Regions from separate parts of the Homo sapiens genome. Here regions 2, 3, 4, 5 and 6 are each linked to region 1. Evidence: promoter capture Hi-C in 16 types of primary human blood cells and fetal thymus (Javierre and others, 2016). All regions are on one chromosome and are shown on one strand. Each heading gives the region's core, a stretch centred on a gene start or on the middle of the fragment in contact. The rest is flanking DNA. Distances are from core to core; before and after follow the strand shown. Region 1 holds the start of PDS5A (PDS5 cohesin associated factor A). Region 2 has its middle 24 kb from the start of UBE2K. Region 3 overlaps LIAS (lipoic acid synthetase). Region 4 overlaps UGDH (UDP-glucose 6-dehydrogenase). Region 5 has its middle 28 kb from the start of LIAS. Region 6 overlaps UGDH (UDP-glucose 6-dehydrogenase).

Evidence for each region. Contacts are between HindIII fragments. The CHiCAGO score rates a contact against its expected background, and 5 or more counts as called.
Region 2: a contact is called between a fragment that was not itself captured here and the fragment with the promoter of PDS5A in region 1, in 1 of 17 cell types (endothelial precursors). The highest score is 5.1, in endothelial precursors.
Region 3: a contact is called between a fragment that was not itself captured here and the fragment with the promoter of PDS5A in region 1, in 14 of 17 cell types (fetal thymus, megakaryocytes, naive CD4 T cells and 11 more). The highest score is 37.5, in fetal thymus.
Region 4: a contact is called between a fragment that was not itself captured here and the fragment with the promoter of PDS5A in region 1, in 6 of 17 cell types (endothelial precursors, total B cells, erythroblasts and 3 more). The highest score is 8.5, in endothelial precursors.
Region 5: a contact is called between a fragment that was not itself captured here and the fragment with the promoter of PDS5A in region 1, in 5 of 17 cell types (total B cells, erythroblasts, endothelial precursors and 2 more). The highest score is 7.6, in total B cells.
Region 6: a contact is called between a fragment that was not itself captured here and the fragment with the promoter of PDS5A in region 1, in 6 of 17 cell types (megakaryocytes, total CD8 T cells, total B cells and 3 more). The highest score is 7.9, in megakaryocytes.

The regions. Positions count from the first base shown.
Region 1 is chr4:39,974,647-39,979,350 of GRCh38, forward strand. It overlaps PDS5A (PDS5 cohesin associated factor A), which reads right to left and starts at 3,265. Exons shown (of 33, transcript NM_001100399.2): 1 at 2,811-3,265; 2 at 1,794-1,971. The coding sequence starts at 1,931. RefSeq lists an enhancer at 1,604-2,512 and silencers at 2,050-2,799, 2,850-3,489. The HindIII fragment of the contact is 4,779 bases long and covers 1,377-4,704 here.
Region 2 is chr4:39,671,161-39,676,325 of GRCh38, forward strand. No RefSeq gene overlaps it. Among named protein-coding and RNA genes, the nearest start is that of UBE2K, 24 kb to the right of the region's middle. The HindIII fragment of the contact is 883 bases long and covers 3,243-4,125 here.
Region 3 is chr4:39,468,848-39,473,866 of GRCh38, forward strand. It overlaps LIAS (lipoic acid synthetase), which reads left to right. Exons shown (of 11, transcript NM_006859.4): 8 at 1,172-1,317; 9 at 2,389-2,459; 10 at 4,253-4,364. Among named protein-coding and RNA genes, the nearest start is that of LIAS, 12 kb to the left of the region's middle. The HindIII fragment of the contact is 3,280 bases long and covers 544-3,823 here.
Region 4 is chr4:39,502,742-39,507,313 of GRCh38, forward strand. UGDH (UDP-glucose 6-dehydrogenase) reads right to left here. Exons shown (of 12, transcript NM_003359.4): 8 at 2,877-3,007; 9 at 2,496-2,629; 10 at 1,676-1,767; 11 at 1,134-1,244. Among named protein-coding and RNA genes, the nearest start is that of UGDH, 22 kb to the right of the region's middle. The HindIII fragment of the contact is 1,301 bases long and covers 2,659-3,959 here.
Region 5 is chr4:39,484,760-39,489,500 of GRCh38, forward strand. No RefSeq gene overlaps it. Among named protein-coding and RNA genes, the nearest start is that of LIAS, 28 kb to the left of the region's middle. The HindIII fragment of the contact is 4,347 bases long and covers 244-4,590 here.
Region 6 is chr4:39,519,049-39,524,140 of GRCh38, forward strand. It overlaps UGDH (UDP-glucose 6-dehydrogenase), which reads right to left. Exons shown (of 12, transcript NM_003359.4): 2 at 2,303-2,471. The coding sequence starts at 2,464. Among named protein-coding and RNA genes, the nearest start is that of UGDH, 5.8 kb to the right of the region's middle. The HindIII fragment of the contact is 4,613 bases long and covers 1,315-5,092 here.

The DNA.
Region 1 (4,704 bases), core at 2,015-4,514:
CGATTCTCCTGCCTCAGCCTCCCAGTAGCTAGGATTACAGGTATGCGCCACCACGCCCAGCTAATTTTGTATTTTTAGTAGAACTCCAGACCTCGGGTGATTTGCCTGCCTCGGCCTCCCGAAGTGCTGGGATTACAGGCTGGAGCCACCACACCAGGCCCAAGATTTGTTTTAATGAAAGGGGCTGGGAGCAGTGGCTCACACCTGTAATCGCAGCATATTGGGAGGCCGATGCAGGCAGATCATTCGAAGTCAGGAGATCGAGACCAAAGTGACCAACATAGTGAAATCCCATCTCTACTAAAAATACAAAAATTAGCTGGGCGTGGTGGCAGGCACCTGTAATCCCAGCTACTAGAGAGGCTGAGGCAGAATTGCTTGAACCCGGGAGGTGGAGGTTGCAGTGGGCCGAGACGCGCCACTGCACTCCAGCCTAGGTGACAGAGCAAGACTCCGTCTCAAAAAAAAAAAAAAAAAAAAAATTTAGCCGGGTGTGGTGGCACACGCTGGTAGTCCCAGCTACTTGGGAGGCTGAGGCAGAATAGCTTGAACCTGGGAAGTGGAGGTTGCAGTGAGCTGAGATCCCGCCGCCGCACACAGATTTGTTTTAATGAAAGGAACTGTTGTCTTATTCCTTCCAAAAAGGCAACAAATTGCAGAACCAAATTAAGAGTCTGAAAACTAAACCACAGGAATATTTTAAATACTGTACTCATTAAAATGCAACATTAGGTACATTTACTGGGCTCCAAGAGCAAGAGGCCAAGCTCATTCCCTAAAATACATTTGGCCAAGTGGCCCAAGGTGGAAACATTGTCAACAATGTTGCTTCCCTCACCTCCCACCAATTCTGATTGATTCTAACTCTGAAAAGTTGTTAAATCATTTCCTAGTCACTATTACCAATGCCATAGCCCTACCTGAAGATTTCAACGTCTTTCACCTAGACTACTGTTTACAGTTTCCTAGCCGGACTCACTGCCTCTGGTCTTCCCCTACTCCAATCTAGCACCAATTGTGACAACCAAAATGTCTCCAGCATTGCCAAACATCTCCTGGAGGTCAAAGTTGCCCTGACTCAGAACCACTGCTTCAAGCTGTTCCTACAAGAAGAATATTACTTATTTGTTAAGATTCTGGCCACAATCTATGTCAGTGGAACAGAAACCAAAAAAACTAACAAACATGAGGTTGAAATTTAAAACCTTAACCTTAGGACTGCCATGCTTAAACAAAATTAGCTGACACCTCATAAAAAGGGCCATAATACTCTTAAACTCCTTTGAACGTATAGACTTAAATCATCTTACTTTAAGCCTGAATTATGAAAAGTCTGTACCTTCTGTCAAAGTTTAACCACCATATATACATATTTAAGCTTCTGGATATAGAAAATTATGCAAATTTTTAAAAAGGACTTTGCGCTTTAATCAATCCCCTTCAGAAGCTGAAAATAGTAAACTTCTTAGGCAAATTACTGCCTACACCTAAGTTTGCAAGCCACTCTGAACAGTATTCTCATTAAATACCTCCAGAAAAAACTCTAAAAACACAAATTCTTATGCTTGAAAACCAGTAAGTTTTTGAAAAATCACACTCCTTTTAAATTTCCCACAATGGTTATATCCCTACAAAACTCACTCAAAGATGTTATCTGAGATACAACAGTACCTTTCAGAGGGGGTAAGAGATCTAAAAAACTTGGAACTTTAAAGGCCAGACTGAGCAGGGTAGCAGTATCACAGGAGAAAGCGCCTTCTACCAAAGACATCAAAATCCGTCCAGACACTTACCTTCAGGCGTTTGATCATCTCGTCCGTGGTGATCTTGTCGGTGATCTCTTTTACCCCCGGAGGGTAAGCGATCTTCCCGTCGGCACTCACGACGCCACAGAGGGCAGTGGCAGGCTTGGGCTGCGCGGTGAAGTCCATCCTGGGGGACAACTTTTGGTTCACAGTCCTCTACCGGCCTCTATCGGTCAGAAAACCAAAGTTCAGCGGGAAAGGGGCGACTTTGTAACCTCTTTTTTCATTTCAAATCTCTCTAATCTGGAAAAGGCCCTGTCTCCCCAGAGGCCGGGGACCCGGCAGCGGCCTCGCCACCCGCTCTTTCCCAGGGATCGAACCCCGCCGGCCCCGCCAACCCGGCCCTGCCAGCCCCAGGCTCACGGGGCTCCTCCGCACCAGCCGCCGTGGCCGCCGAACAGCGCCAGGAGTTTCCCATTCCGCCTTTCACAATGAAATCCACCCCCGAGCACCAGGGTCCGAAGTTTGGCGGCCCCGGGAGGCCGGCAAGGACCCCAAGGCCCCCGCTCGGCGGTGGGGAAGCACCCAGTCCCGCCCGGCCAGTCCCCTCCGGGAAACCAGACCCGAGGCCTATAGGGCTCGGCTTAGGCCGCAAAACTAGGGACCCAGCGGACCCACGCGCAGCGGCGGCTGCCGGGAACAAAACGCCCTTGCCCAGCCGAGCCTCGGACCCGGGGTAGTCCCCGCCGCGCTGCCACCCCTCCCCTGTTCCGCTCCCTCACCCCCGCGGGAGGGGAAAACAAGCCGCCCTCCACCCTCAGCCCCACGCCAGGAAGCGGCTGACGCGCCTCCGCACTTCACATTTTGTTCCTTCAACTTCGGCTGAGGGACCCCAGCTGCTTCTCTGGCCCCCGGCCGCTTGGCGCCTCCGGCACCGCCGAGGCCTTCCCGGCACCCTCGGGCGGCCCCACCGGGCCTCGGACCCGCGGCCCCCCCCTCCAGTCTCCCCTTCCGTCCCCTCCCTCCAGCAGCCTAGGGCGGGAGCCGAGCCGCCGCCGCCTTTACCTCCTCCTCATGCGGGCGGAAGGTGCATCGAGCGCCCGGGCCTCTGTCAGGTGGTTGCGCCGCCGCCCCTAGTCGGGCTGCACACAAAGCGGCTCCGCGGGTCCCGCCGCCGCCGCCGCCGCCGCCCGCCCGCCCGGGAGCGGCGCTGGGGCTGGCGGTGCCGAGGAGGAGCAGCCGCCGCGGGGGGAGACGCGGGGCGAGTGAGCGCTGGGCGGGGAGACAGTGCCGCTCTCCGTCTGGCCGAGGAAGAGCAGCCTCGAAGGCTCCTCCGGGAGTGTGTGCGCTTGTGTCCGTCCGGGACCCCCGCGGCCCGCCCGCACGCACCTCGCGCCGGCCCGGACCGCCGACTCGGACCCGGACGCCCCTCGCAGAGGCGCGCGCCCGGCCGTCCGTGCCCCGGGAGCCGGGGCCTCGCGCACACACCGGCCGGTCACGCGAGCGGCGCGAGAGCACGCGAGAGCAGCGCGCGCTCCTCGCTCCCTCCCCTTCCTCCGCCGGCCGTGCATCCGCCTCCCTCGGGCCCGAGGCGGCCGCGCGCAGGGCGGACAGCGCCGCCACCCGGTTGGCGCCAATACCTGCCGCGCGGGGCGCCTCCCGGAGGACCCGACCGGAGAGGGCGAGAGGAGGAGGAGCCCGGGTGGCGGGAAGCGAGCCCAGGTTCCCGCGGCCTTGCGAGGGCACGCAGGGCAAACAGTGCTTTATCTTTCGCAGCGGCGATGAGCTGGTGACTTTTGGGGGTCATCCTGAGGGACATAGACGAAACTGGTTGGGAGGTAGTTAATTGCTCGGTGAAAATGAACTGATTTCCTCCTCAGGGAGAGATCTGCAAAGTCAAGGAAAGTTGTGCAATGGGGCGCAGCGTGAGCGGCTCACTCTCGGGTCTTCTGACAGCCACCCGAGTTGCCCACCCTCCTTAGATTTCTGAAGTTAATATTTTGAAAGCTGCAAAACATGAAAATAGCATTGGGTCGAGTCGTTCTCAAGGTATGGTCTTTGGGCCACCAGGCCTCACAATCACTTTGGGTACTGGCTGAAAACGTAGGTTTCCAACTCCAAAGATTAAAAAACATAAAAATATATGTTTTTTTAACGTAAAAATATATATGAACATAAAACATATAAAAATATAACATATAAAATAAAACACTAAAAAATATAAAAATATACATAAACATAAAAATCTCTGAGAGTGGAACCCAGAAATAAGCATTTATTAATTGGGTGGGTGATTCTTGTAAATAAGGAAGAGCTCATTTTTTAAAAATGTTTTAAACCTACCAAGCATTAACGTTTTCTGTCATCCAAAGGAAAACCACTATCAGGTAAAAACAGTGCACGCAGCAGTGTTTGAGCAATTTAATGTATGTAATTGAAACAAATTAACGCAAGAACATACACTTACCTATTTAAAAAAAATCAAGAGCATACACAAAATTTCCGAAGAGAAAGTTGAAAAAAGGATACGATAATATGAAATCACATTCAGCTCTTGAAACTGACCACTACCATAGTTTAAAATGATATTCGATTGTTTATTCAAATTATTCTTGATGGGTACCCATTGGTCTATTTTTTTCCCACATCCTTTAACGTCAACTTAAAAATAGTAAAGGTACTGCATTTCAGCTCACTGACTTGTTTTTGACGTATTACACAAGAGCAGTCATTGCGAATCTGACACTCCACAGTTGCTGATTTGCTAGAACTCTGCCCAAAAGTCAATGCTTTGTTCTTGGGCATTTACAGTACCAGGCAGAATCCATTTAAAAGTGTCCTCATCCAAACTATTAAGTGGACCAAAAGCTGCTCTCTTTTTAGGCTCTCCCTGTCACTTTTGATATTTATTTTTTTCTTTTGAGACGGAATCTTACTCTGTCACCCAGGCTGGAGTGCA
Region 2 (5,165 bases), core at 2,434-4,933, 300 kb before region 1:
CCTAATGATTGCCATTCTAACTGGTATTTCCTTGTGGTTTTGATTTGCATTTCTCTAATGACCAGTGATGATGAGCTTTTTTTCATCTGTTTGTTGGCCACATAAATGTCTTCTTTGGAGAAGTGTCTGTTCATATCTTTCGCCCACTTTTTGATGGGGTTGTTTGTTTTTTTTCTTATAAATTTGTTTAAGTTCTTTGTAGATTCTGGATATTAGTCCTTTGTCAAATGGATAGATTGCAAAAATTTTCTCCCATTCTGTAGGTTGCCTGTTCACTCTGATGATAGTTTCGTTTGCTCTGCAGAAGCTCTTTAGTTTAATTAGATCCCATTTGTCAATTTTGGCTTGTGTTGCCATTGCTTTGGTGTTTTAGTCATGAAGTCTTTGCCCATGCCTATGTCCTGAATGGTATTGCCTAGGTTTTCTTCTAGGGTTTTTATGGTTTTAGGTCTTATGTTTAAGTCTTTAATCCATCTTGAGTTAATTTTTGTATAAGGTATAAGGAAGGGGTCCAGTTTCAGTTTTCTGCATATGGCTAGCCAGTTTTCCCAACACCATTTATTAAATAGGGAATCCTTTCCCCGTTGCTTGTTTTTGTCAGATTTGTCAAAGATCAGATGGTTGTAGATGTGTGGCATTATTTCTGAGGCCTCTGTTTTGTTCCATTGGTCTATATATCTGTTTTGGTACCAGTACCATGCTGTTTTGGTTACTGTAGCCTTGTAGTAAGTTTGAAGTCAGGTAGCGTGATGCCTCCAGCTTTGTTCTTTTACTTAGGATTATCTTGGCTGTACAGGATCTTTTTTGGTTCCATATGAAATTTAAAGTAGTTTTTTCTAATTCTGTGAAGAAAGTCTATGGTAGCTTGATGCAGATAGTATTGAATCTATAAATTGAGCAGTATGGCCATTTTCACGATATTGATTCTTCCTATCTATGAACATTGACTGTTTTTCCATTTGTTTGTGTCCTCTCTTATTTCCTTGAGCAGTGGTTTGTAGTTCTCCTTGAAGAGGTCCTTCACATCCCTTGTAAGTTGGATTCCTAAGTATTTTATTCTCTTTTTGGCAATTGTGAATGGGAGTTCACTCATGATTTAGCTCTCTATTATTGGTATATAGGAATGCTTGTGATTTTTGCACATTGATTTTGTATCCTGAGACTTTGCTGAAGTTGCTTATCAGCTTAAGGAGATTTTGGGCTGAAACAGTGGGGTTTTCTAAACATACAATCATGTCATCTGCAAACAGGGACAATTTGACTTCCTGTCTTCCTATTTGAATACCCTTTCTTTCTCTCTCTTGCCTGATTGCCCTGGCCAGAACTTCCAATACTATGTTGAATAGTAGTGGTGAGAGAGGGCATCCTTGTCTTGTGCCAGTTATCAAAGGGAATGCTTCCAGCTTTTGCTCATTCCATATGATATTGGCCGTGGGTTTGTCATAAATAGCTCTTATTATTTTGAGATACATTCCATCAATACCTAGTTTATTGAGGGTTTTTAGCATGAAGGGTTGTCGAATTTTTATCAAAGGCCTTTTCTGCATCTATTGAGATAATCCTGTGGTTGTTGTCATTGCTTCTGTTTATGTGATGGATTACTTTTATTGATTTGTGTATGGTGAACCAGACTTGTATCCCAGGGATGAAACCGACTTGATCATGGTGGATAAGCTTTTTGATGTGCTGCTGGATTTGGTTTGCCAGTATTTTATTGAGGATTTTCACATCAATGTTCTTCAGAGATATTGGCCTGAAATTTTCTTTTTTTGTTGTGTCTTTGTCAGGTTTTGGTATCAGGATGATGCTGGCCTCATAAGATGAGTTAGGGAAGAGTCCCTGTTTATCTATTGTTTGGAATAGTTTCACAAGGAACAGTACCAGCTTCTCTTTGTACCTCTGGTAGAATTTGGCTGTGAATCCATCTGGTCCTGGACTTTTTTTGGTTGGTAGGATACTTATTACTGCCTCAATTTCAGAACTTGTTTTTGCAGTGGCTGGTACCGGTTTTTCCTTTCCATATTTAGTGCTTCCTTCAGGAGCTCTTGTAAGGCAGGCCTGCTGGTGACAAAACCTCTCAGCATTTGCCTGTCTGTAATGGATTTTATTTCTCCTTTGCTTATGAGGCTTAGTTTGGCTGGATGTTAAATTCTGGGTTGAAAATAACTTTCTTTAAGAATGTTGAATATTGGCCCCTACTCTCTTCTGGCTTGTAGGGTTTCTGCAGAGAGATCTGCTGTTAGTCTGATGGGCTTCCCTTTGTGGGTAGCCTGAACTTTCTGGCTGCCCTCAACATTTTTTCCTTCATTTCAACCTTGGTGAATCTGATGATTATGTGTCTTGGGGTTGCTTTTCTCAAGGAGTATCTTTGTGGCGTTCTCTGTATTTCCTGAATTTGAATGTTGGCCTGTTTTGCTAGGTTGGGGAAGTTCTCCTGGATGATATCCTGAAGAGTCTTTTCCAACTTGGTTCCATTCTCCCTGTCACTTTCAGGTACACCAATCAAACGTAGGTGTGGTCTTTTCACATAGTCCCCTATTTCTTAGAGGTTTTGTTCATTCCTTTTCATTCTTTTTTCTCTGATCTTGTCTTCACACTTTATTTCATTAAGTTGATCTTCAGTCTCTGATTATCCTTTCTTCCACTTAATCAGTTCAGCTATTGATACTCATGTATGCTTCACGAAGTTCTCGTGCTGTGTTTTTCAGCTCCATCAGGTCATTTATGTTCTTCTCTAAACTGGTTATTCTAGTTAGCAATTCCTCTAACCTTTTTCCAAGGTTCTTAGCTTCCTTGCATTGGGTTAGAACATGCTCCTTTAGCTCAGAGGAGTTTGTTATTACCCACCTTCTGAAGCCTACTTCTGTCAATTAGTCAAACTCATTCCCTGTCCAGTTTTATACCCTTGCTGGTGAGGACTTGTGATCCTTTGGAGGAGAAGGGGCGTTCTGGTTTTTGGAATTTTTAGCCTTTTTGCACTGGTGTTTCCTCGTCTTCGTGAATTTATCTACATTTGGTCTTTGATGTTGGTGACCTTTGATGGGGTTTCTGTGTGGACAACATCCTTTTAGTTGATGTTGATGCTATTCCTTTCTGTTTGTTAGTTTTCCTTCTAACAGTCAGGCCCTTCTGCTGTAGGCCTGCTGGAGTTTGCTGGAAGTCCACTCCAGACCCTGTTTGCCTGGGTGTCACCAGTGGAGGCTGCAGAACAGCAAAGATTGCTGCCTGTTCCTTCCTCTGGAAGCTTCATCCCAGAGGGGCACCCGCCAGATGATGCCTAGCTAATTTTTTTCAAGTTTTTGGAGAGATGGACTCTCCCTATATTGCCCAGGCTGGTCTTGAACTCCTGGCCTCAAGGGGTCCTTCTGCCTGAGCTTCTCAAATTGTTGGGATTACAGATATGAGCCACTGGACCTGGCCAGGACTAAATTATTTCTGAAAAAAACTTCTGGCCATGAAATTATATTTCAATTATTTAATTCAAAGCCACTAGTTATTTTAAGCAATTTAGCTTAGCAGATTAACTGATTGCCATTTTAGATAATGGATACATTAGTGGTTGTAAATGGTATAAATCCAATTCAAATTATTGCAGGCAAAACAGGATTCTATAGGCTCTTAGAATTCAAGAAATGGTTAAGCAGTGAAACAGTGGGAAGGACAGAGATTCAGCTGAGCCTTGGGAACCCTGATATTCACACTAAGATAGTAAGGTTTAAAAGTAAGATTTGACGGCCAGGCGCGGTGGCTCACGCCTGTAATCCCAGCACTTTGGGAGGCGGAGGCGGGCGGATCATGAGGTCAGGAGATCGAGACCATCCTGGATAACATGGTGAAACCCCGTCTCTACTAAAAATACAAAAAAATAGTCGGGCGTGGTGGCGGGCGCCTGTAGTCCCAGCTACTCGGGAGGCTGAGGCAGGAGAATGGCATGAACCCAGGAGGCGGAGCTTGCAGTGAGCCGAGATCCTGCCACTGCACTCCAGTCTCTGGGCGACAGAGCGAGACTCCGTCTCAAAAAAAAAAAAAAAAAAGTAAGATTTGAAATTGGTTACTTGATTTGGATGTGAAAGCCAGCCTTGGCCGATGAATTACAGAAAGCAGAAGGGAGAGGAGCAAGAACTAAGCTTTGCTGAATGTCTACTATGTGTCAGGTTCTGTGTTAAATTATTTCAAGAAATCTATCTATTTTAATCCTTACCAAAAAGTATAGAAACTGAAGTTTAGAGTGTTTTAAGAAACTTGCGTAAAGTCAAGTGGTAGGGCCGGATGCAGTGGCTCATGCCTGTAATCCCAGCACTTTGGGAGGCCGAGGCAGGTGGATCACTTGAGGCCAGGAGTTTGAGACCAGCCTGGCCAACATGGCGAAACCCCGTCTCTACTAAAAATACAAAATTTGGCTGGGCACGGTGGCTCACGCCTGTAATCCCAGCACTTTGGGAGGCCGAGGTGGGTGGATCATGAGGTCAGGAGATGGATACCATCCTGGCTGACGTGGTGAAACCCCGTCTCTACTAAAAATACAAAAAAAAAAAAAAAATTAGCCAGGTGTGGCGGCGGGCGCCTGTAGTCCCAGCTACTCTGGAGGCTGAGGCAGGAGAATGGCATGAACCCAGGAGGCAGAGCTTGCAGTGAGCTGAGATCACGCTACTGGACTCCAGCCTGGGTGACAGAGCGAGACTCCATCTCAAAATAAATAAATAAATAAATAAATAAATAAATAAATAAATAAATAAATAAAATAAAATAAAAATACAAAATTTACCCGAGCATGGTGGCCCGCTCCTGTAATCCCACCTACTCAGGAGGCTGAGACAGGAGAATTGCTTGAACCTGGGAGGTGGAGGTTGCAGTGAGCGGAGATCGTGCCACTGCACTCCAGCATGGGCAACAGAGCGAGACTGTCTGGAAAAAATAAATAAATACACACACACAAAAATAAGCAAACTAAAAGTAGAACCAAAGAAGTGGCAGTGACCAATAATTTTCCCTGGTTTGGTTTAATGATGCTCAGCTAATAATATGCTTGCAAATAAATATTTCTTTTTCTTTTCTTTTCTTTTCTTTTCTTTTTTTTTTTTAGACAGAGTTTGCTTTTATTGCCCAGGCTGGAGCACAATGTTGCGTTCTCGGCTCACTGCAACCTCCGCCTTCTGGGTTGAAGC
Region 3 (5,019 bases), core at 934-3,433, 510 kb before region 1:
TGGGCGACAGCAAAACTTTGTCTCAAAAAAAAAAAAAAAGAAAAAAACTCATATCATTCAGATGTACTTTTTAAAAAAAGTAGACACTATGCTTTCTTATTCCTAATAATTTCAGTAATTAAGACTAATCATTGGCAAGTAACACTGATGTAAGAAAAAAAGTAAGGATTGTTATCCACATCCATTCAAATTTTAGAAAAATGAACATTTTAAGCTTCGGGCAAGAGTAATATCATTTTTTTCTTTAATTTTAGCATTTAGCAGTGATTTTATTAGCTTCTACATATGATCTGTGTCATAGAGCCTGAAAGAAGTTACAGTAAACAATAACCACCATTTTCACTAAATCATAAACAGTAGAGACCATAACTTAATTTCAGTGGAGAAATTCTGTTAAAAAGTGATTTCTATAATGTCAGTTTCAGTTACTTTTAAGTTCATAAATTTGTTTCTTCTCTTTCCTGTTAACTAGTCTCCAATGAAAAACAATTACAGAAAATAAAGCTGCATTAGAATTGAAATGAAATCCAGTTTAACATCAGAAGCTTTCTGGCCTTTTGGCTTAAAGGATAAGTCATTTAAGCCATGGTGGTTTGGCCATTGTTGAAGTCTAGGACACAGCCTGTTCCAACCTCATCATGATACCACCACCAGTGGGTGCCAGTTTCCCTGGTTTCACTTAAAAACATGATCCTTTCCAGTGAAAATTCCAGAATCATGCATTTCTTTACCTAATATGTGGCAGTGTTGTATACTTACCAGCAGAGGGCAGCTTAGTCTTCAGAAAAGAAATGAACTTGAAAGTTTCAACCCTCTGACATGTGGGTTCAGCTTATTTTTTTCTTTGTTCAGTATGGAGACTCTCTTACTTCTGCTTTTTTTCCTTTCTCTTCTAATTTTTCGCTTCAGAATTCTGGTTTCTCAATGCATAAACTGAAGTAATTTCTTCCATTCTACTTTTCTCTGCCCCAGGCTTGAGATAGAACTAGGGAGCCCAGTGAGGCCTTTTCTTTCCTAAATTAACAGGCATCTGTGCATAAATGCTACCTTTGAACTATGTGATTTAAGATAATGTGCAGAATGTACTTCTCTGGTCTTTCAGGTTGCTTGCATAACTATGTACTTGGTTGAACTTGTAATTCTTGCTGACAACAGTCCTGCTGTTTTCCAGTAAGGTTCGTGATCCTCGGGCCAATTTTGATCAGTCCCTACGTGTACTGAAACATGCCAAGAAGGTTCAGCCTGATGTTATTTCTAAAACATCTATAATGTTGGGTTTAGGCGAGAATGATGAGCAAGTATATGCAACAATGAAAGGTAAAGAAATTGAAAAATGAAAAATCTTTCCCATGTAATTTGAGTAATAGCAGGAACCCACTCACTTTGAAGGCCCTTCTAAGAACAAAGAAAAGTATATGGTTATAGATGGCAGCATGAAAAGGAAACCAACTTGCACATGCACCCTCAAATCTAAAATACAAGTTAAAAAAAAAAAAGCAAAGGAAATAAATTTTCTTGGAATTTCATGGAGTGATATGCATGACGCTCAGGATACAAAATTTATATCCCATTTTATTCCCCATCCTTTGCATCCACTGAAAGCATGATTTCATCCACTTTTCTCATTCTATCATTGGACACTTTTGGAGAGCCAGCCTGGTACCAGGCACTGACAGTTCATAGATCAATGAGACTAATCCAGGCCTCTGAGAAAGAGCTTACTTGTAGCATTGTCACATAACATGGTGTGCTTTGGACTTTGCTGAACTTTAGTCCCGTAAGTCCATTTGCTTTGTGATTCTTGGACTTTTTAAACTTTGGAATTTCAAAGTTTTAATTTTAGCTGAGGACCCTTGGACTACTTGTAGTTATTTAGTGGTTCAAAGAGTAATAAGTTCATATAATAATCAAGACCTGCTGTTTACCACATTGCACACAGTTTATTAGAAAGATTCTGATATGTCATAGTTTAAATCACAGCCCCCATAGCATATCTTGTGCATTGAGTAAAAGCCTAATGCAACATATTTGCTCTATAATATAGGTGCATTGAGGTTTTTGCATATACCATTTCCCATACCTTTTCTACCAGACTCCTACTCTAAAATACCCTCCACTACTATTTTAGCATTGATTCCATAGTATTAGAAGTATTTATCCTTGTATGTATCAGCCCTACATGACTGTCTTAATTATTATTGTTTTCAGTCCTTACCACAGTCCCTGGCACATAATACTTTTGAATGAATAGATGTTGTCTTATTCCCCAACATGAAGATTATGGACTGTCATAAAGTTCACACCGTTTTTAAATATTCCTTAGGAAAATTATGCTTAGATCTACAATTAAAGTATTTGCTAATGTAATTTGTGCTTTTCTTCCTACAGCACTTCGTGAGGCAGATGTAGACTGCTTGACTTTAGGACAATATATGCAGCCAACAAGGCGTCACCTTAAGGTACATGTATCTTGATTTGCTTTTTTTTTTTTTTTTTATTTTTAAAGATGGAGTTTTGCTCTTGTCGCCTGAGCTGGAGTGTAGTGGCACAATCTCGGCTCACTGTAATCTCTGCTTCCTGGGTTCAGGTGATTCTCCTGCCTCACCCTCCTGAGCAGCTGGGACTACAGGCGGGTGCCACTACATCCGGCTAAAATATACATATATATAATTTTTTTTTTTTTTTTTTTTTTTTTTTGAGACGGAGTCTCGCTCTGTCGCCCAGGCTGGAGTGCAGTGGGGCAATCTCGGCTCACTGCAACCTCCACCTCCCAGGTTCAAATGATTTTCATGCTTCAGCCTCCTGAGTAGCTGGGATTACAGGCACACACTACCACACCCGACTAATTTTTTTGTAGTTTTAGAGACAAGATTTTGCCATGTTGCCCAGGCTGGTCTCGAACTCCTGAGAGCTCAGGCAATCCACCCGCTTCGGCCTCCCAAAGCGCTAGGATTACAGGCGTGAGCCACCGCACCCAGCCAATTTTTTATATTTTTAATAGAGATGGGGTTTCATCATTTTGGCCAGGCTAGTCTTGAACTCCTGACCTTAGGTGATCCACCCGCCTCAGCCTTCCAAAGTGCTGGGATTACAGGTGTGAGCCACTGCGCCCAGCCCATGTATAGCTTTTGACTCCCAAAAAAACATAACTACTAATAGCCTTCTGTTGACCGGAAGCCATACCAATAACAGTCAATTAACACACATTTTGTATGTTACATGTACTTATATATATACGTATGTGTGTGTGTATATCTGTATATACACACACACATATACACACACACACACACACACACATATATACACATCTTATTCTTATGATAAAGTCAGCTAGAGAAAAAATTTTTTGAAGAAAATCATAAGGAAAAGAAAATATATTTACTAGTCATTAAGTGGAAGTGGACCATCATAAAGGTCTTCATCCTCATCATCTTCATGTAGATGAGGACAAGGGAGAAGAGGAGGAGTTAGTCATGCTGTCTCAGGGGTGGCAGAAATGGAAGAAAATCCTTGTATAAGTGGGCCTGTGCAGTTACCATGTTGTTCAAGGCTCAGCTGTATTCTTATAAGTCCCAGTTTTCATTTTATTATCTACATAAATCAGCTACGTTTGCACATATTTGCTGCCTCCCCCATTCTCTTCACAAATTTCACAACTCAAGTGAACCTAGAGAAAAAGAATTTAAAAGTTGGGAAATGGCACTCATTTACACTTGGTTATTGTGTAACTTGTTTTTGTTATGTTAGAGCCAGAGGCGAAGAAAGAATGGGAAACCATTCTTTCTATTTCTATCATGGACATTTATCCATTCATTCAAGAAGCTTGTGTTGAGCAGTGACCATGTGCCAGTCACAGTGCTAAGCAGAAGATACAAGTTGAGTAAGACAGTCTTGTCCTCAAGAATCAGATAAGCATGAGTAATTCTTGAATTTAGCTGTTAACGAAGGAAAAATATAGATAAATAATATCTGTAGATAATCTCTTCTTTCTCTGTCCTTTGGAATAGCCATTGTAGCACAAAATTGATATGCTTCCCTGTCTCTGTAATTCCCTGTATTTACATCCCAATAGAGTGGCCAAAAAGTAACCAGTAAACACGTAGTCAGGGAGGAGGGAGAGGACAAAAGCCTGGGGGTGGGGGCAAGATAAATTACGCAGTGAAGAGCATTCTGCATACATAGGTATAGACTTTCTGCAGAATCAAAGTGGAATTCTAAAATCTGATCAGAAGTAATTATTTAAATCTAGGTTGAAGAATATATTACTCCTGAAAAATTCAAATACTGGGAAAAAGTAGGAAATGAACTTGGATTTCATTATACTGCAAGTGGCCCTTTGGTGCGTTCTTCATATAAAGCAGGTAAGTTAGATTGTGGGGCATGGTTTCATTTAGGCCGTTAACTTTCCACATTAAGTTCTACCACCAGTCACTAAAACTCTTGACAAATTCTAATACCTTTGGTGGTCTTGGTAGAGGGCGTAGTTTTTCTTCTGGAACATCCTTAGGAGCTTTGCTCCATGGGGATCATATTAAGAAAAGTTTCTCTTAATCTTTTGTTTCTTAAACAAATTCAGCCCCCTGCTTTGTAACTCAGCTACTATAGTAAAAGCAGAAACAATTAGTTTATTAATTTTTTCTATGTGTAGATTTCAGTAGTAGGTTATTCAGAAATGACAGAGCATGTCAAGCATCTAATAGGGTTTTCTGAGAAATACATATTTATTTGGAAATGATGCCAGCTGCATCTCCAGACTCAGTTTCAATCAGTTTAAGCACTGAAAAGTATCTTATTTGATAGCATTGCTTGCATCATTAAATTTCTTTGTATTTTTCCCCCAGAGGCAACAGAAAAATATCCATAAGATTATTTTTCTCCGTAGGAACGTTTAGTTGTTTTACTAGCTACAATGCAAATTTTTTTTACTTTTGGAATTTCAGCTCTTATTTTAATCAATAGCTTGAATTGATTTATGAAAAGAAAATCATTTTCCAAGGGATAAAAAGTCATGTGATA
Region 4 (4,572 bases), core at 2,059-4,558, 470 kb before region 1:
TGACAAACTGTTTTTTGTTTTTTGAGGCAGGGTCTTGCTCTGTCACCCAGGCTGGCATGCAATGGCATGATCTCAGCTCATTACAACCTCTGCCTGCTGGGCTCAAGCAATCCTCCCACGTCAGCCTCCCATGTGGCTGGGATTACAGGCACAGGCCACCAAGCCTGACTAATTTTTATTATTTTTTTTTCCCAAAACGGAGTCTTGCTCTGTCACCCAGGCTGGAGTGCAGTGGTGTGATCTTGGCTCACTGCAACCTCCGCCTCCCAGGTTTAAGCGATTCTCCTGCCTCAGCCTCCAAAGTAGCTGGGATTACAGGTGTGTGCCACCACACCCAGCTAATTTTTGTATTTTTAGTAGAGATGGGGTTTTACAGTATTGTCCAGGCTGGTCTCGAACTCCTGACCTTGTGATCCGCCCGCCTCAGCCTCCCAAAGTGCTGGGATTATAGGCGTGAGCCACCGCGCCCAGCAATTTTTGTATTTGTTAATAGACACGGGGTTTCACCATGTTGGCTAGGCTGGTCTCGAACTCCTGGCCTTAAGTGGTCTACCTCCACAGCCTCCCAAAGTGCTGGGATTACAGGTGTGAACCACTATGCCTGGCCAGTTGACAAACTTTGAATCAGAAGAGGGCCAGTACCATTGAAACTCCCATATGTTTCATTCAGACCCCTCACAGCACTGGCACAGTGCTGAGTACTCAGAAGGTATAGGATGAACACCTGCTGATTGACCAAGACCTCTTTCTTTCTCTACCTTTAGATCGCAAATTTAGGGAGGAAGTAGAGAAGTAGAGTAGTCAGAAAAATCCCATAGGGACTTCCTAAAGAACTGACATGTTGCCCCAGAGTTACGTTACTGCTAAAGAAAATAAGAAAATTCTAAAACCCACACAATGGGTTTAAAAAGCAAATGAGCACTTTCCTAATTGTTGAAATAAACTTCTGATATTGATTTGGTTCCCCAAAAGAACTTCCCTAGAAAGAAGGTATCATCTTAATTAGCCAAACATATTCTGACCTGCTGTGATGGTCTTTTGATGTCAACTTGACTAGATTATAGTCCCCAGTTGTTGAATCAAACACTAAAGACCAAACAAAAAGAAAAAAAACAATCCAGGATCATGATTACCTGGAAGCCAATGGTTTGTAGTTCATTGTGGAGCCCATCCAGGACACGCCGTCCATCGAAGATAAAGGCTGGCTTTAGCATTTTTTTATGAATGCGTTCATAATCCAATTCCTGTAAAGACAAACCACAGGAACAATTAAAACACATACGTGGGCCGGGCGGAGTGGCTCATGCCTGTAATCCCAGCACTTTGGGAGGCCAAGATGGGTGGATCACGAGGTCAGGAGATCGAGACCATCCTGGCCAACATGGTGAAACCCCGTCTCTACTAAAAATACAAAAAATTAGTTGGGCGTGGTGGCAGGAGCTTGTAGTCCCAGCTACTCAGGAAGCTGAGGCAGGAGAATGGCGTGAACCCAGGAGGCAGAGCTTGCAGTGAGCCGAGATTGCGCCACTGCACTCCAGCCAGGGCGACAGAGCGAGACTCCATCTCAAAAAAAAAAACAAAAAAACAAAAAAACACATACATGAACACATACTCAACCCCAGCTGATAGTGGAACACCTCTAGAATTTTCCTTAGTATCTTTTCTGTTACCTTACCTTAAACATGTCCCACTCAGTGCAAATAACAACAGCATGGGCACCATCACATGCTTCATATGGATCCTTGGAAATGGTCACGAGCCGGGACACTGTAACAATAGCAACAACAAAAAAACAGAAATAAGAAAGGAGTTATATGACATTACAGTAGTTCCCCCCTTATCTGCAGGGATACATTCCAAGACCCCCAGTAGATGTCTGAAACTGTGGAGAGTACTGAACCCTATATATACTTACACACATACCTGTTTTTTGAATCTGATTGCCAAAAGTTACTAAGTGACTAAGTAGCATATGGAATGTGGATATGCTGGACAAAGGAATGATAAATGTCCCAGGCAGGATGAAGCAGCACACAATTTAAAACTTATGAATTGTTTATTTCTGGAATTTTCCTTCTAGTACTTTCAGACTGCAAGTGACCGCAGATAACTGAACCCGTGGAAAGCAAAACCACACATAAGGGGATAGTACTATAGGTATTCTAACACTAGGACTGCAGGAAGAGTTGGGAATAATCTGATTGCAGTATCAATGGGAGTGATGGTGGGAGGCCCCAAACCCTGCTTTGGAAGCATCTCTTTGGAATTTTGGGGATTTGTGGAGTATGTTGGAAAAATCAATGGACCAATCCACAGCTGATCACTTCAAATCAATGTTGATGACATTATGCCTAAGACTTTAATTTCAGAGAAATGAGGTTGAAAAGAGGGCCTACCAATGATATACATGATAAAACTGAACAACCTAAGGTTTCCAAAAGATAAAAAGTTTTCAGGTCTGGACTCAAAATGATTCATGAGACTCAAAGCCTTACCTTGGTCATCCTCTGAAACACCTGGATGAGAAAGATCCACAACTATTTGTTCCCTAGGTACTTTTGGATCATATATATGTAGATGTGCACCTTCATCCATCAAATATTTGCTAATATATATACTAGAAGATTCTCTATAGGAAAAAAAAAATCAGTATTGGTAAGCTTTATGTGGCATTATATTCTAATACCAGGGAGTTTAAGATACAGGTAAAATTATATTTCTGAAGCTGGTAGAGTGGTGAAGATATGGATATTTATTTTTATTCTTTATATTTTATATATATACATGTATTTTATGTACACCTACCCCAATCAAAAAATTAAGATGAGGAGTTAACACAATCTCAAAAGGGTTGAAATATTTTTAAAAACTGATACCTTGTATCACCAGTGTCCTTTTTGAATGCAAATCCCAAAATAGCTATCTTCTTATCAGTTACTGTATTAAACAGACTATCTATGATCCGGGAAGCAAACCTCCTCCTCTGGTAGTCATTCATGTCTATGACCTGAAATTACATGTACAATTGTGCAATGATTAGTTAAAAGAGGCACAGCCTATGACACACATTACTCAGAATTTTATGGTGAGTGCTATTGTACAAATACAATGCTTACATATTAACAAGAGGCAAAAATTAACCAAACTCTAGTGCCTATGGATTAAAAAAAAAAAAAAATCACTCATCCCCTTCCTTAAAGCCATCCTAGGCCAGCAGTGGTAGCTCATACCTGTAATCCCAGCACTTTGGGAGGCCGAGGTGGGCGATTGCTTGAGCTCAGGAGTTCAAGACCAGCCTGGGCACCACGGCGAGACCCTGTCTCTACAAAAAATACAAAAATTAGCCAGGCAAGGTGGCATGTGCCTGTAGTCCCAGCTACTTGGGAGGCTGAGGTGGGATGGCTTGAGCACAGGAGGCAGAGGTGGCAGTGAGCCGAGATCATGCCACTGCACTCCAGCCTGGGCGACAGAGCCAGACCCTGCCGTAAATTTAAAAAAAAAAAAAAAGCCATTCTAAAAATTTCTAATTTCATTTGGCTTGATTTTCTATGCATAAGGCTAGGATGGATGCCAAAAGTGGAGCGCACAACCAAGTTTTAATTCTAAGCGCATTTGAGGTTCAGCTATGAGACCAACCTAAATAAGGCACATAGGAAACCATACTATCCTTAGTCCGTGTCTCCAAATTCTGTGGAAACAAGCTACAAGCAATGAAACCCCAAAGTATTCCTTCATTTGCTTGTGCCCCACTATTCACAAAAATTCAGTTTCAGTGGAAAGTGGACAGGCAACAAACAATGTGCAGAGTTCTAGCTGCCTCTGGATGAACCATAACACCACAACTATTTGACAAGGTTTTTTAACTAACTAAATGTTATAAGAGTCTCTGATCACTTAATCTGTTAAATTTAGGTTGGTAACCGGGTGGGCGAAGCAAAAGAAACTTTTTTAAGGCTTTAAGCTTTCAGGGACCATCTCAATCAAACCCTGAGAGCTTAAGCAATTAGCCCAAAGTGTTGGAAAATCAAGAGTTTATCTGCATTTTTCACACAATGAACAGTGAGATAAAGCCATCATGATGGATTGACTGGAATGACACTAATTGTATCTGTTTTCACTTTAAAATGTGCATTTCCGGCTAGGCAGGGTGGTGCACCTGTAGTCCCAGCTACTCAGGAGGCTCAGGTGGAAGGATCACTTGAGCCCAAGAGTTGGAATCTAGGCTGGACAACACAGTGAGACCCTGTCTCTAAAAAGTAAAACATTTTAAAAAAAGAAACGTGCATTTCTTTAGATTCCCTCCCATATCTACTGCTGAAACCTGAAAAATTATAAACTCGGGGAAAATATTTGGGAAAGGCACATATACCGACTAGTAATTGGGGCAAATTACTTAATATCTCCATGTCAGTTCCCTCATCAAATAAAGAGGATAATGTTAGTGATGAGGATTAAATGAGATACTGTATGCAAAGTGCCCAAAAGAGTACCCAGTACAGGGTAAGCATTCAATAAACATCAACTCTACTTCCCAGAGCTCACTTAATGCTTCCAATTTGGAAGGGGTTTCTA
Region 5 (4,741 bases), core at 1,167-3,666, 490 kb before region 1:
GATAACACTATCTAAGAAGTCAGAACCCAAAAGGAATGTGCTCTGGAGGCTCTCCCAGCACTCCCCAACATAAGGATAAGAAAAACAAAATTCCTCTTTTAGCCCTTTACCACCTCCCCATAAATATTTTGCAAGTTTTAGAAGTTCCTGTTTCTCCTTCAATGCAACTGCAAGGTCACAAGCTATGCTAGAGATTACGAGACCTGTCACTGTTTCATTAACTGTCTTTATTCTGCTTCTGTAAGCTTTCTTATAAAAATTGAGCCCTGTCTTTGTTCTGGCCTCAATTTTTTGGATATGAATCCACTGAGCCAGCATACACCTTAATAAAAATCCTCCTGTAACACCCATTTGGTCTCTTTGGTCCTCTGATTCCTACAACATTTTGGTGAGCCAGCCGGGAGAGGAGATGACAGGTTTGCTGTCTCCTTTGCCTGTGGGGCTGGAGCCCCAGACTGGCGGGATACCTGTGACCCCAGGTGTGCCATCAGGAGAACTTCAACCCGGAGGGGAGATCAGCTCTCCTGCGACCCAGTGTCCCTTCGCTGACAGTGCAACGGAACCTAAGGGGTATAGGACGATTCCAGGGTCAGTGCACTTCAGGACCACGGTAAGGTATTGGGGCCCAAGGCAGGACCTGTCCCATAAGGAGGGAAGGGGAGCCTGATCACCTTCCAGGGTGCAACTAGTAGTCCGACACAGGATGAGAGAATGGCTCGTAAATGTTGGGGAAACTTACACCCTAACCAACCCAGGACGCAAGAGTGGCAGGGAAGCAATTGGTCATGTATTTAGGGTAGTAACTGGGGTCGGAGGACAGCCGGGACACCTGGACCAATTCCCCTATATCTACTCATGGCCGCACTCAGGTTATGCAAATGCCTCTCAGGTAAAAAAGAGGACCCCCCTCTATTATAATGAACAAGGTCAAATCCAGGGAAGGGAATGAACCTTCATTTACCAGCCTTTTTCAACCACTGATCTCCTAAACTGGAAGCACCATACCCCTTCCTGCACAGAAAAACCTCAGGCCTTTATAGATCTGGTGCAGTCCATCTTCCTAACACACAATCCAACTTGGCCAGATGTCAAACAGCTCCTCCTGATGCTGTTTAATACTGAGGAGCACCGGAGGATAACTCAGGCAGCCCTCCACTGGCTTGAAGCAAATGTACCAGCAGGCACAATGAACGCTCAGGCATATGCTCAAGGCCACCTCCCAGAAGCAGACCCACACGAGGACCCAAATGATGTAACCCAGTTTCAGCACCTGCAGAGGTACCAAGAGGCAATCCTGCAAAGGCTGAGAAATGGTGGGAAAAAGGCAATCAACATACGGAAAATCTCAGAGATGCTCCAGGGAGCAGATGAAAGCCCTAGCCAGTTTTATGAAAGACTGTATGAGGCATTCCGGCTTTGTACTCCGTTTGACCCTGAAGCAGCTGAAAATCAGCACATGGTGAACACAGCATTTGTAGGACAAGCCCAGGGTGACATCAAACAGAAGCTGCAGAAATTAGAAGGGTTTACAGGCACGAATGCCACCCAGCTTATAGAGGTGGCCACTGAGGTGTATGTTAACCGTGACCAAGAGGCAAAGAAGGAAGCAGAACAGAGGCTTGAGAAAAGGGCCGATCTGTTAGCGGCAGCCCTCGTAGAAAGGGAAACTAGTATTCTAAGAGGATGTGGACGTGGACATGGATGTGGAAGAGGTCAAGTTAGGCAGAGATCTGAGAGCCGGCCGAGGCTAGAGAGAGATCAATGTACATGATGCAAAAAGAAGGGACACTGGAAGGATGAGTGTCCAGAAGGTAATGAGGAGAGTAGTCAGGGCCATGGTATGAAGAGACCATCTGCCAAGGGCTGCCGCACCCTGGGGGAACTAGATACTGATCTAATCAGGCTGGCAGGGGCTGAAGGATATGAAGACTGGGACAGACTGGGCTCCTTCTCTTTAGGCCCCCAGGAACCAATAGTCACATTAGAAGTTGCGGGCCAGCTAATGGACTTTATGGTAGACACTGGGGCTGAACACTCAGTAGTGACCTGACCTATAGGGCCACTAATCACGAACTATACAACTATTGTAGGAGCCACTAGAGTCTCAGAGAAAAGGCCTGTCAGTCAAGGAGGTGTGTTATAGGAGGACGAGAGGTCCAACATGAATTCCTATACCTCCCAAATTGTCCAGTTCCTTTGCTGGGAAGAGACCTACTCCAAAAACTCCAAGTACAGATTGCTTTTGGGCCACAAGGAAGTATGACTTTGAGCCTAACTGAGCTGAAGGCCATGATGTTAACCCTTACTGTCCCACAGACTGAGGACTGGAGACTATATGCAAAAAAGACTCCAGAACCAGGAGTAAATGAAATGTATCGGTTACTTACTAAAATTCCTGGAGTATAGGCTGAAGATAACTCACCAGGGCTGGCTGTAAATCAGGCACTGGTAGTAGTAGGGTCAGAACCAGGAGGCCCCCTTCATTGCTGTGGAGATATAGTAGATAAGGTGTTCTCAAGCCAGAGAGATTTTACAGACCAACCCCTCAGGGCCCCAGATGTTGAATACTTTACAGATAGAAGCAGTTTTGTACTGGAAGGGATCTGACAAGCCGGGTATGCAGTAGTAACATTAAACTCAGCAGCAGAGGTACAGTCTCTGCCCACCGGAACATCAGCCCAAAAGGCAGAACTAATAGCCCTGACAAGAGCCCTTTTGCTAGCAAAAGACAAAAAAAGTCAATGTCTGGCCAGTCACGGTGGCTCACGCCTGTAATCCCAGCACTTTGGGAGGCTGAGGCGGGCGGATCACGAGGTCAGGAGATCGAGACCATCCTGGCTAACACAGTGAAACCCCGTCTCTACTAAAAATACAAAAACTTAGCTGGGTGTTGTGGCGGGCGCCTGTAGTCCCAGCTACTCGGGAGGCTGAGGCAGGAGAATGGTGTGAACCTGGGAGGCGGAGGTTGCAGTGAGCCGAGATGGCGCCACTGCACTCCAGCCTGGGTGACACAGCGAGCCCCGTCTAAAAAAAAAAAAAATAGTCAATGTCTACATGGATTATAAGTATGCCTTTGCTACATTACATGTTCATGGAGCTATATATAAAGAAAGAAGACTTTTAACTGTAGGGGGCAAAGAAAGTACAAAGAAGAAATTCTACAGCTCTTAAATGCTATATGGGCTGCTCCAAAGAAAGTAGCCGTTATGCATTGCAAAGGGCACCAAAAGGCAGGAACACTAGAGGCCAAAGGAAACAGAAAAGCAGACAAGGAGGCAAAACGGTCAGCAATGACTACCCCGCACTGTAAAGAGGAGATCCTAGCTTTGCCTCTCCTCCCAGAGCCTCCCCTGCCAGAGGTCCCAAATTATTCTCCAAATGAAACGGGCCTAATTTGCCCAAGAAGCCAGAAATTACATTGAAGGAGGATGGTGGAAATTCTCAGATGGGAGGCTAGCCATTCCTGAAATGGTAGCCCCTAAGTTTGTAAAAACAATTCCATCAAATAACTCATATTTTTTAAAAATGGCATTAGAGACACTACTTAGACTCCATTTCTGTGTGCCACGACTCACTGCCATTGCCCGAGCCGTTTGTGAACAATGTCTAACTTGTGTTCAGAACAACCCTCTGCAGGGGCCTACCCGGCCCCCAGGAATTCAAGAAATAGAGGCCACACCTTGTGAAAACTTGCTTCTGGACTTTACCGAGCTGCCCCAAGCAGGAGGCTATCAGTACATGTTGGTGTTCATCTGCACCTTCTCAGGGTAGGTTGAGGCTTTCCCCACCCGGACAGAAGAGGCGCAGGAAGTAACTAAAGTACCGATAAGAGACATTATTCCCAGATTTAGACTGCTTCTAACTCTAGTGTCAGACAATGGACTGGCATTTGTAGCTGAAATAGTTCAAGATCTAACACGGCTGTTAAAAATAAAATGGAAATTACACAAGGCCTACCAGTCACAAAGCTCAGGAAAAGTGGAGTGCATGAACTGGATGGACACTCAAGCAGCTACTGAAGAAATATTGCCAGGAGACTTATCTGAGATTAGATCAAGTCTTGCCCATGGTCCTCCTCTGAGTCAGGCGCACCCCCACTAAACAAACTGAGTATTCGCCCTGTGAGATTTTGTTTAGCCGGCCATCCCTAATCATAGGTCAAGTTAGAGGTGATCTCCGTGAGCTAGGAAAACTAACTTTGAGAAAGCAAATGCAGGCTTAGGGATAGCCATGTAAACAGTTCATAGCTGGGTACATGAAAGAATACCTGTTAAGTCTAACAGACCCAGCACACCGATTTAAACCTGGGGACTTTCTTTAGGTTAAAAAATTGGAATCCAACCACTTTGGGACCCATAAGAGATAGGCCCCATACTGTAATCTTGTCCACTCCCACTGCTGTTAAAGTTGCGAGAATCGTGCCTAAGATCCACCACAGTCTGCTGAAACTGGCGGCCCAAGACCGGTAGATCAGCCACCAGGACCCAGACCACCCGACCCGACTCAGCCTGCGACAAAACTAAGCTGCCAGTAGAGACAGCAGACCTGCTCTAGTCACTCCAGAAGCTGACTAGTCTATGCACCGGCTGAAGCTTGAAGAATCATCATCAGGGAAGTAAATGTAGCCAGAGATCTTAAGCCCAATAACTTTCCGTATAATATTAATTGTTTTGCTGGCCGGGCGCGGTGGCTCATGCCTGTAATCCCAGCACTTTGGGAGGCTGAGGCGGGCGGATCAAGA
Region 6 (5,092 bases), core at 2,371-4,870, 460 kb before region 1:
TGGGATTACAGGCGTGAGCCACCACACCTGGCTAATTTTTGTATTTTTAGTAGAGACGAGGTTTTGCCATGTTGGCCAGGCTGGTTTCGAACTCATGACCTGAAGTGAACTGCTCACCTCGGCTTCCCAAAGTGCAGGGATTACAGGTGTGAGCCACTGTGCCTGGCCGTATTTTTTTTTTTTTAATTTGGAGATGGGAGTCTCACTATGTTGCCCAGGCTGGACTTGAAACCCTTGGCTCAAATGATCCTTCTGTCTCAGCCTCCTGAGTAGCCAGAACTACAAGGCCATGCCACCATGCCTGGCTTATTTGTGAAGACTAGAATACACTGCTGGCAGAATTCATTACTGAATGTTTGGATATAAGTATGGTTTATGGGGTTTCAAATGACTTGCAACCCTTTTATCAATATCAGCATTATAGAACTCACCATCAAGTTATCTTTCTAAAACATTTTTAAAAATTACCCTAAACCAAATATAGTAGTAATATATATATATATATTTTGAGACGAAGTCTTGCTCTGTAGCCCAGGCTGGAGTACAATGGCGTGATCTCGGCTCACTGCAACCTCTGCCTCCTGGGTACAAGCGATTCTCCTGCCTCAGCCTCCCGAGTAGCTGGGATTATAGGTGCGCACCACTGCACCCGGCTAATTTTTTGTATTTTTAGTAGAGACGGGCTTTCACCATGTTGGCCAGGCTGGTCTTAAACTCCCGACCTCAGGTAATCCGCCTGCCTTGGTCTTCCAAAGTGCTAGGATTACAGGTGTGAGCCACCGTGCCGCCAATATTTCAATCCTAAATCTGATTCAGATATAATAAGTAAATCTGTGTTTTTGAGTGACTATTAGTCTATAGATGCTTTTTCATAGATTTCCATATCTTATATTCCTATAGATAGCAGGCAGACCTATCTTAGAGATAAAACTGGATTGAGACTTTCCTTCTAAAAGTCTAAGGCAACTAAAGTCTATGGTTGATAATAGTCATAAAGAAATAAGCTTCAGCCGGGCATGGTGGCTCACACCTGTAATCCCAGCACTTTGGGAGGCCGAGGAGGGGCGATCCCCTGAGGTCAGGAGTTCAAGACCACCCTGGCCAACATGGCGAAACCTCGTCTCTACTAAAAATACAAAAATTAGCTGGGAGTGGTGGTGGGCACCTATAATTCCAGCTACTAACGAGATTGAGGCAAGAGAATCGCTTGAACACGGAAGGCAGGTGTTGCAGTGAGCTAAGTTCGGGCCATTGCACTCCAGCTTGGGCAACAAGAGTGAAACTCCGTCTCAAAAAACAAATAAAAAATAACCAAGCTTTTCTTGGGGAAAAATATAAACATATTAATGTTAGCTAGAAAATGCTACCATCAAATTTGCAAATGCTTTTCTGTTGAGTTTCAAAAGCATAATATGATGAACTCATTTTACAGTGAAATAATAAAAAAAAAGGAAACCAGATAGCTCAGTAAAATAGTTAGAAGCATATTTTTCTAAATTCTCTAAATTCACAAAATTTTGAAATTCCAGTTAAAAATATTTGTGGCACCAAACTCTAAATATGAAAGATGCCATTTGTCCATCTAATGTTTATGTGATGTTAGTAAAATAATCCAAAAATATATTAAATTTATATTAATATTATTAAAAGTTGTATTTATTTTATTTTTACAGGATACCACTTTTTAATTTTATTATAATATGGTAATGATACTAACAGACAAAATTAGGAAACAGGGAAGAAGGCCAGGTGCAGTGGCTCACGCCTGTAATCCCAGCACTTTGGGAGGCCGGGGCGGGCAGATCACCTGAGTTCAGGAGCTCAAGACCAGCCTGGCCAACATGGTGAAACCCCACCTCTACTAAAATACAAAAATTAGCTGGGTGTGGTGGTGGGCGCCTGTAATCCCAGCTACTCAAGAGGCTGAGGCAGAATTGTTTGAACCCGTGAGGTGGGTGTTGCCGTGAGCTGAGCTCGCGTCATTGCACTCCAGCCTGGGCGACAGAGGAAGACTCCGTCTCAAAAAAAAAAAAAAAAAAAAAGAAAACAGGAAAGAGAAAAAATTATCCATAATCTCACTGCACTAATACACCATTCTGATAGACTTCTTTCTGGTCATTTTTCCTACCCACATTACCCGAAGTAATGTGTTTTAATGTCCATGTGTTTTGTATCCAGATTTTTTTCATTTAATTTCTTACCAGTTGCTGTTATAGATTTTTATATTAATAGTGCATATAAATGATATAATAAAGACAGTAAGAAAAAAGCATAAAAACAAAGAGATGTTTAATATGTTTACCTCATAAATAGGAAGTGTAGGAGAATTCCACGCATTGATTCTTGATTCATTGACATCAACAACCGTTACCCTGATTTCAGGACACATATGAGCAATGACACTACATGTGGGTCCTCCAACATAGCCTGCACCGATGCAACAGATCTTCTTAATTTCAAACATGATTGTACTAGAAGGAAAACAGTAAGACTGTTCTAGTATTGAAAACAGAAAATTTAAAGAAATAATATTGTACATTAATTATACTTTATAAAAACTGTCAAGGTGACAGATATCTGGAAAGATTTCCTACATTCGCTCTGAGGAATTATGGAAATAGTGATTTAAAAAATAACATTCCAATTGGATGACCTAGCCTGTTCTCAGCTGCACTAGCATGAAACATATGGAAATAATTACAGTAACTGATATTACTGAAGGGGAGCCACAAAGATTATAATGACCTAATATTTAGAAAGTAAAGAATCAAAGTAAAACCTTCCTTAGGTCTATAATACACTAGGACAACTTTGATTGCTGAGAGAAAGCTCCAGGATGAACATACTTGTACGATTCTTGCTTAAATAAATGCTAGTGTACAAAGATGAGTTTATAACAGGTTTAGATTACGATGATATAGAATAAGATTAGTTCCACAGTCCAGAATTGGCCTCTGATGAGATTATATGCCCTACACACTACTTTGGCTTTCAAAGTTTACTTTTAGGTACTAGGCAATAATCTTAAACTCCATTTCAACTTTAATCAGAAACCATAAGGTGGTTAAAGAAAATGTAATTTCTGTAATTACCAAAGCTGTTACACAGATTTTTTTCCTTCCCAATGCCAGCAGAAAAGTGGGTTACACAGATTTTGATAGATTTTCAAAAGCATTAGGTGAACTGATTCACACTAATCAAAATGACAAGGAACTGATTTATACATAAGTATGCTCATTTATCCGTTATAATGAGAACTGTCAAACTGATCAGATTCTTAAAAGCAAAGAATGGTTTTGCCTTGCCAAGACCTCAGACATCATCTAATCTAACCCATTCACAGATTCCAAAGAGAAGGAAAATGGTAATCAGAGAGTTTAAGAATTTTTTAGTATACTCCTGTATGGATCAGAGAACGCACTCTGGAAGGCTGGCCTAATTTGAATGCCTGGCAAGAAGAATATCCCTATTATGAAAAAAGACAAATCATATAATTAAGATTATCCAATTCTTTTTGGTTTGAATCTGTATTAAACAATATTCTAAATTTTCGTTTGGTTCTCTGGATAGATTTCCCTACTAGAAGAAAATGAGCTGACTAATCCATGTAGGTATCCTGGATTGTTTGTAGCCTGTGTTAATAAACTACCAATCTGGCTTATGCATTGATCTTTAGTGGTATAGATATCAACTCATGGAGTCTGATCCCTCATGACTTTTTTTTTTTTTTTTTAATGAGACAGAGTCTTGCTCTGTCGCCAGGCTAGAGTACAATGTGACCTCGGCTCACTGCAACCTCCGTCTCCTGGGTTCAAGCAGTTCTCCTGCCTCAGCCTAACGAGTAGCTGGGACTACAGGCACACACTACCATGCCCAGCTAATTTTTGTATTTTTAGTAGAGATGGGGTTTCACCATGTTGGTCAGGATGGTCTGGATTTCTTGACCTCGTGATCCACCCGCCTCAGCCTCCAAAAGTGCTGGGATTACAGGCATGAGCCACCACGGTATTTATTTTTTTTGAGACAGAATCTCACTTTGTCACACAGGCTGAAGTGCAGTGGCACCATCTCAGCTGCACTTATTACAACCTCCGCCTCCTGGGTTTGATTCTCGTGCCTCAGCCCGCCAAGTAGCTGGGACTACAGGTGCATGCCACCACACCAGGTTAATTTTTGTATTTTTAGTAGAGACAGGGTTTTGCCATGTTGCCCAGGCTGGTCTCGAACTCCTGAGCTCATGCAATCTGCCTGCCTCAGCCTCACAAAGTGCTAGCATTACAGGCACGAGCCACTGTGCCAGGCCCCTCATGACTTTTAAAAAACAATTAAAAGAAATAGAACTTTGGTAAAATAGTAAAAATGGACAGAATTTTGAATTATATGATTCAATTAAATAGAACAGTATTCTATTTGAATCTGTATTCAAATAGTATTCTTAGCCATATGAAATAAATTTTTAAAAATTATTTATTCTGGCCAGGCACGGTGGCTCATGCCTGTAATCCCAGCACTTCGGGAGGCCGAGGAGGCTGAATCACCTGAGGTCAGGAGTTCAAGACCAGCCTGATCAACATGACAAAACCCCATCTCTACTAAAAATACAAAATTAGCGGGGCATGGTGGCACATGTCTGTAATCCCAGCTACTTGGGAGGCTGAGGCAGGAGAATCGCTTGAACCCGGGAGGCGGAGGTTGCAGTGAGCTGAGATCGTGCCATGTTGCACTCCAGCCTGGGCAACAAGCACGAAACTCCATCTCAAAAAAAAAAAAAAAAATTATTGATTCTGAATAATGTTCATATGGTTCAAAATTAAATCTGTTGTAACAAGGTACACATGAGAAGTCTCACTCCAACCCCTTCCTTATCTACTTTGCTATCCCCTACTTTGCTTCCACACAAGCAATCCGTTTTCTTGTATATCCTCCCAGCTACAAGTAAATATACATATATATTCTAATAATCTTGTCTTTCTAAATTCAATAGAATACCATATATACTATTAACACCTGGCTTTTTTCACTTAATTAAACCCAGTATATCTAGAATACCTAAAGAGTAGAATCTCAAAGTAATGTTGGACCAGAGGATCTT